Regions from separate parts of the Homo sapiens genome. Here region 2 is linked to region 1. The links are contacts of gene promoters, found by promoter capture Hi-C in human tissues and cell types (Jung and others, 2019). All regions are on one chromosome and are shown on one strand. The core of a region is centred on a gene start or on the middle of the fragment in contact, and the rest is flanking DNA. Distances in the headings are between cores, read along the strand shown.

The links. The method cuts DNA at HindIII sites, captures the fragments that hold promoters and counts their contacts. A contact is called where the count stands out against the background at its distance.
Region 2: a fragment that was not itself captured here is called in contact with the fragment with the promoter of SLC24A5 in region 1 in 1 of the 25 tissues and cell types used here (dorsolateral prefrontal cortex).

What each region holds. Positions count from the first base shown.
Region 1 is chr15:48,119,237-48,122,447 of GRCh38, reverse strand. It overlaps SLC24A5 (solute carrier family 24 member 5), which reads right to left and starts at 1,458. Exons shown (of 9, transcript NM_205850.3): 1 at 1,283-1,458; 2 at 412-591. The coding sequence starts at 1,403. The HindIII fragment of the contact is 7,987 bases long and covers 1-2,386 here.
Region 2 is chr15:48,163,976-48,167,186 of GRCh38, reverse strand. MYEF2 (myelin expression factor 2) reads left to right here. Exons shown (of 17, transcript NM_016132.5): 4 at 1,059-1,066; 5 at 1,161-1,254. Among named protein-coding and RNA genes, the nearest start is that of MYEF2, 13 kb to the left of the region's middle. The HindIII fragment of the contact is 6,022 bases long and covers 1-3,211 here.

The DNA of each region.
Region 1 (3,211 bases), core at 209-2,708:
AATCAAAGTTATAGCGAGCTTAGAGTAAAAATAAAAAAAAGTTTTTTGAAGCATAAAATGGCAAATATTAGGAGTTTCATTGTATTAGGAGCGCACACAAAGTACATACAAGTGAAATCTTGGAACAGTTCTTATAACAAACATCCAGGCAGTAGACAAACTAGAGATTTCTGGAAATAGGCAGAAAAATAATAACTGCCGGGTTCTAACTTGAAGAAACTCTGATTCACATTAACTACCAAGAGAAACCACACTCGACCAGTTCCTTAAGACACGGGACCCCACAACAAGAAGCTGGTGCTCTGCAACCAGTTGAGAAGTACAGGACAGCTGCTGAGCTATTTCAAAGACAGTCATATCTGTGTGGCACACTCTCCCAGAAGGTTACAGGGCAACTTTCCAGCCACTTACATTCACTGATGATTTCCAGGGAGGGTAGGAAGTATTCATCACAGACAATAGATATGGCCATGAACATGTAAACGATAATTAGGAAATAGATTATGATGCCTCCATCTCTGCGCTCCTGTCTCGTGAAAAACCCTTCGGGAAACTCCGATGATGGAGAAATAACACATTGGGTGCTATTTCCTGTTAAGGAAAAGGAGGTGAAAGTTTGAAGAGTTTGGAGTCACACATTCCAAGCCCACAGAGAGCTTCCTTAAGAAATCTGTAAGTGTGGGGTAACCGGGTGGAATTTTAAGGACCCACTGAAAATGTATAAAGCGCTTCTGAATATAACACAGTTGTAGAGTTTTCAAAAAATTTTTTTGGGGGACTGAAAAGAGATATCTTAATGAAATATGTTGATGATGGTGAAGAATTAAAAAGAGGAAATCATGAAATCACTCCTCCTTGTTTTTATTTCTGAATCTCTCTTCCCCAAGTAGAAACTGTATCTCTGATACATGAAGATTTCTATTGTTTATACAATTTCGTTTTCTCATTGCAGAGCCTAAATTGTTCACAGGCCTGCAAAGAATCCATCCACTGTTGCAGAGAGAATTTCTAAGATGAAAGATTTTTTGTTTTCACCAAAAAGTCTCCAAGAACAAAAACTGGAGACTTGGCCTACTATGATCTCTGTGAATTACTTTGGAGTATATTTAAGAACTTATTTGAAGGATCAAAAGTGTTTGATATCTTTTTAAATGCTAAAATTCAGAAGCGTAAGTAAAAGTGAGCCCATTGAGAATTTTCCTCTTTTTGTCCCTTCATCTGTATGTGGTAGCAGCAGCAGCAGCTGCTGCTGCAGAGCTAACTGACCCCAATGTCCACCTACCTGTGGCCCTTGGGAGACGTTGGGGCAGGGAGGTCCCTGAGAGAGGCAGATGTGCAGTGGCCCACAGGATGCCGAGCAACAGAGCCCTTCTCGCCCATGTTTGGCCCCCTTTTGTCTGCATTTCTGCTGTGCTCTTACTGCAGCGTGCAGCTTCAGGAAGGGAGAAGAGGAGGATTAAACTGGATCATGTGAGGAGTCTCCTTCCTGCCCAATACCCTGCCCAGGGCACATCTCAGCAAGGCCAGCACAGGAGAAAGGGCGAGTGTAGCCAGTCAAGCTTCTCTGATCAGGAGACCCAATCTCCAGGGAGGCCGGAGGAGACGGAGGAGAGCTGACAACCATTGTCTATAGCTATTTCCATGGCCTACAGTCTCTAAGGGCAGATTAAGGCAGCTTGTACTTTATGAAAATGTGTGGTTTTATTTAATGTCTTCATACTGGCTCTGCTTTTGACTTTCTCTAGATTTGTAAAAAGTTGGGTTTGCAACTGCTTCCCATCTCTCTCCAGCCCTTTCCCCTAGAAGTTGTTTGGGTTGATATTAATATATGTACATGCTTTGGCTAGCTCGGCATCCTTTCATATTTCTGTTTTAGCCTCTCATCTTCATCTTCAGTTAGGGCCAAAGGGAGAAAGGCCAGTTAGGGCATCATTGCAATCGTCTAGCTGAGAAATGATAGTGGCTTGAACCAAGGCTGTGGCAACGGGGATGGAGAGTAGCTGACAGTTTCAAGAATTATTGAGATGGAGTGGATGCTATTTGATCATTGATAGGCTGTGCTTTCTGCCAGAGGGAGCTATCTAAAATGCAAATTTGACGTACAAGGTAGTGTTTAAATATAGACTACTATCTTCCCTATGCTAACATTTATGAGGCTTGCCAAGATATTTAGAACTTTTGGCAGTGTAGTAACCTATAGCTAATAGCACAGGCTATGGAACCAGACCACATGATTTGAGCCCTAGCACTGCTACTTACTAGTTATGTGACTTTTGGCATGTTATTTAACCTTTCTGCTACACAGTTCTGCTATCTGTAAAACAGGGATCACCTGTATTTGGGTTGTGGTAAGAATTACAAAAATGAACGCAAATAATTTGCTCAGAACGACCTCTGGCTGACGTCTTCATTCCTTCCTTTCTTTTTCTTTGTTTTGTTTGTTTTCCTTCCTTCCTCCCTTCCTTCCTTCCTTCCTTCCTTCCTTTCTTCTCCTCCTCCTCTTTCTCTCCTTCCTTCCTTCCCTCCTTCCTTCCTTTCCTTCGTTCCTTCTTTCTTTCTTCCTTTCTTTTCTTTTCTTTTTCTTTCTTTCTTTCTTTCTTTCTTTCTTTCTTTCTTTCTTTTTCTTTCTCTTTCTTTCTTTCAATTGAAATAGAAGCGTTTTTGTTCATAAAAATTTTTGTAGTTTTGCAACTTTCATGGTTCCTTTGCTTTGCAGAAAAAACACAAAAATTGATATGCCTAGTAAGTTTTCTATTTAGAAACTAGCTTTATCTGATGGAACGGAGTAAGTTGCTTCCTGATGTTTGTGATCTTGGGTCGGAAGAAAGTCTCAAAAACTACTTTTTTTTGTGGGAATTGGTATCCATTATAAACCTCTCCAAAACTGTCATTTCTAGGAACTAGATATTCAGATGTATGGTGTGATTGTGAGGCTGTGATGATGAGTCACCAAAGCATAGCCCAGTATAGAGCAGATTCTCAACAAGCAGAGTTCCAGCTGTCTACACTCGCAGGAAGCAGCACCCTGATCACTGGGGAGTGGCCTACATGCCAGCTAGCTAAGACTAAGGGAAGAGGTCGTTTAGTTTTATGCTGAGTGGAAGTGTCTTGCGAGCCTCTCCTCTTCAACACACAGTACTTCAATCAATTCATAAAACATCATAAACAAATAAAATACCAATAATATAAAAAGCTCAAACCCAAAGTGAAA
Region 2 (3,211 bases), core at 489-2,988, 44 kb before region 1:
ACCTAGCTGCCTGGAAGGGATGGGTTTTGTAAACACTCCAAAGGGGCATTCACTTTTCCAATGCTCTAAGGTAATACTTCTTCTTAGCCAATAAGATTTTAGCATAGGATTTTTTTTGTTGTATTTTGATGTCTTCAAGGATACTTTAAAAGTCACTGAATTGATAATATTCCTGAGTTTTTTGAGGGCTATAGCTTAAAGGTGTTAGTTCAGAATGTATTTTTGAAATTTTACTGAAAAGTTAAATTTGGTAGCCTGCAGGACTACATGAGAGGCAGTGCTCTGACCAATTGGTATGAATGACATTTACGATTATATTGACGTAGAAGGAATTGGTTGATAGTATATTTTGATTTTTAGCAATAAGAATGCAGTATACTGAAGAATACAATGGAAAACTCTTAGCAATGTTTCATTATGTTAGTAAAACTAGTTGGGTGCATGATGAATAAAAATTTTGTCATTACATTCATATGGGACTTTGAATGGCAATCACAGGGAATTATTTTTTAAATAACTCTCCAAATTAATTTATTATTAGTTTATAGATGATTTTTACATACTTCCAACTGGGTGCTGTTAAATGTGCAGCCAGTTTTAATCTAATAGAGAACTTGTTAAAAATAAAATTAATATTTATTCACTATTTTGATTTTAATAGAGTTGAAAAATATGTCGTAGACAATACATTTTTTGAAAATATTTGTAACTACAGAAGGATAGGTCTATTGGAGCCTTTAGTTATTTCCTTGAATTCCTGTTGATTTAATTTGTGCAGTGACATTAATTTTAACTTAATGAAAAGTCACCTAAAAGTGAAAAATGTGCTCCAAGCTTGTTACATGTTAGAGTCTACTATCTTTAATAGATATATTTAAAAATTTAGAGAAAATTTGTGGTTACTTGCCTGTTATGTTCTGGAGGTATAAAAGATGAAGTGATTCTACCATATTATTAATTGCCTTAATGATTGAAATGTTAGAACTGATTATTAACTTCATGTACTGATCTAAAACTTTTTTTCTTTTGCATATTTTGACAAATCTACCTGGATATAGGGTTGTGGGTAAGAAATTTTTTCTTTAAGTATCTTAAGTCAAATTAAACTTTGGAAAAAAATTAGCACATAAACATTTCCTATAAATTTTTTCCCTATTAAGTGTGGTTGAATTCAAAGATGAAGAATTTGTAAAGAAAGCCCTAGAAACTATGAACAAATATGATCTTAGTGGAAGACCCCTTAATATTAAAGAGGTAAGATTTCTCATATTTAGAATTTAAACATTTGACTATAAAGACATGTTTTCCTTGGATTTTCAATTTGGTAATATATTTGCCTGACTACAACTTTTTTTTAAAACATAGGTGTTCATTAAAGCATTATATATTGACGAAAGTTTTACTTGTACATGATTTTATATTTGCTGTTAAGCAGTTATCCTATATACTTGATTGGTTCCAAGTTGTTAAAAATAAAAGCACATAATTTAAAAAAATTTGAGGACCTAGAAATTCAAAGGGGATAAACTTTAGGTGCTAAGTTTATTTGGTACAGACATTTTCAATATTTAGATTTTGTTATTTGAGAAATATAATATCCTTGTAATTGATAATTAAAGGTCACTTAATGCAAATATGTTATGGATTTGAATAAAATTGATATTCACTTTTTATCAGAGTTACTTGGAAACTGTACTAGATTAAAATTTAAGAAAAATTATAACTTTGTTAGTGAAATTTATAACTAGAAGTTGGAATCCCCTAAAATGGAAATGTCTTCTTTGTACAAAATTGTAGCAGTGTAAACAGGTTGACAAAAAATGACTAGAAGATACAAACAAAAAATTTACAGTTTAACCTTGAGAATGATTGGCTTGAATAGCACTCATCTTCATAGGTTCCTTTATTTTGTATTGTTAATCTTAATAGTTTGATTACAGACCTGTTATGTACATATACTTGCTAAAGTCTGTGTTAAAAGAGATAAATAGTGTAACTTTGGGACCCTGAAGATTTTGTACTAATACTGATGCTAATCATTGGTTGTAGAGCAGTACTGTCACCCATGGCATTTAATAGTATACTAATGATTTGATTCCTGGCTTTATCACTTTCTAGTGGGTGTCTAGACATGCTACTTAATTTCTCTAAACTGAAGTAATGGTAGTAGTACTACTGATAATAGAGGCATACCTTGGAGCTATTGTAGGTTTGGTTCCAGACTACTGCAATAAAGCAAATATAACAATAAACTGTGTCATATGTATGTTTTGGTTTTGCAGTACACATAAAAGTTACGTTTATACTATATTCTGTTTAAAGTGTGCAATAGCATTATGTCTAAAAGCACAATATACATGCCTTAATTTAAAAATACTTTATTGCTGAAAATGCTAGTGATCATTTGAACTTTCACTGTAACCTTTTTGCTGGTGGAGAGTCTTGCCTCAGTGCTGATGGCTGCTGACTGATCAGGGTGATGGTTACTAAAGTTTGGGGTGGCTGTTGCAATTTCTTAAATTAAGAACAATGAAGTTTGCTGTATCAGTTGAGTCTTCCTTTCATAATAGATTTCTCTGAAGCATGTGATGTTGTTTGATAGCATTTTACCTACGGTTGAACTTCCTTCAAAATTGAAGTCAGTCCTCTCAAACCTGCTGCTGCTTTATCAATTAAATTTATATAATATTCTAAATCCTTTGTTGTCATTTCAACAGTGTACATAGCATATTCACCAGGTGTAGATTCCATCTCAAGAAATGACTTTCTTTGCTCATACAAGAAGTAACTCCTAATTTGTTTAGGTTTTATCATGAGTTTACAGCAATTTATTCACATCTTCAGGATCCACTTCTAATTCTAGTTTTCTTGCTCTTTCCATCACATCTTCAGTTACATCCACCATTGAAATCTTGAAGCCCTCAAAGTCATCCATTAGGATTAGAATCCACTTATTCCAAACTCCTGTTAGTATTGATATTTTGACCTTATGAATCACAGATGTTCTTAATGACATCTAGAATGGTACATTCTTTCCAGAAGGTTTTTAATTTACTTTGCCCAGGTCTATCAGAGGAATCACTGTCTATGACAGCAATAGCCTTACAAATTGTATTTCTTAAATAATCAGGCTTGAAAGTTAAAATTATTTCTTGATTGATGGGTTACAGAGTGGATATTGTGTTAATAGACCTGCAAACAACATTAGTCT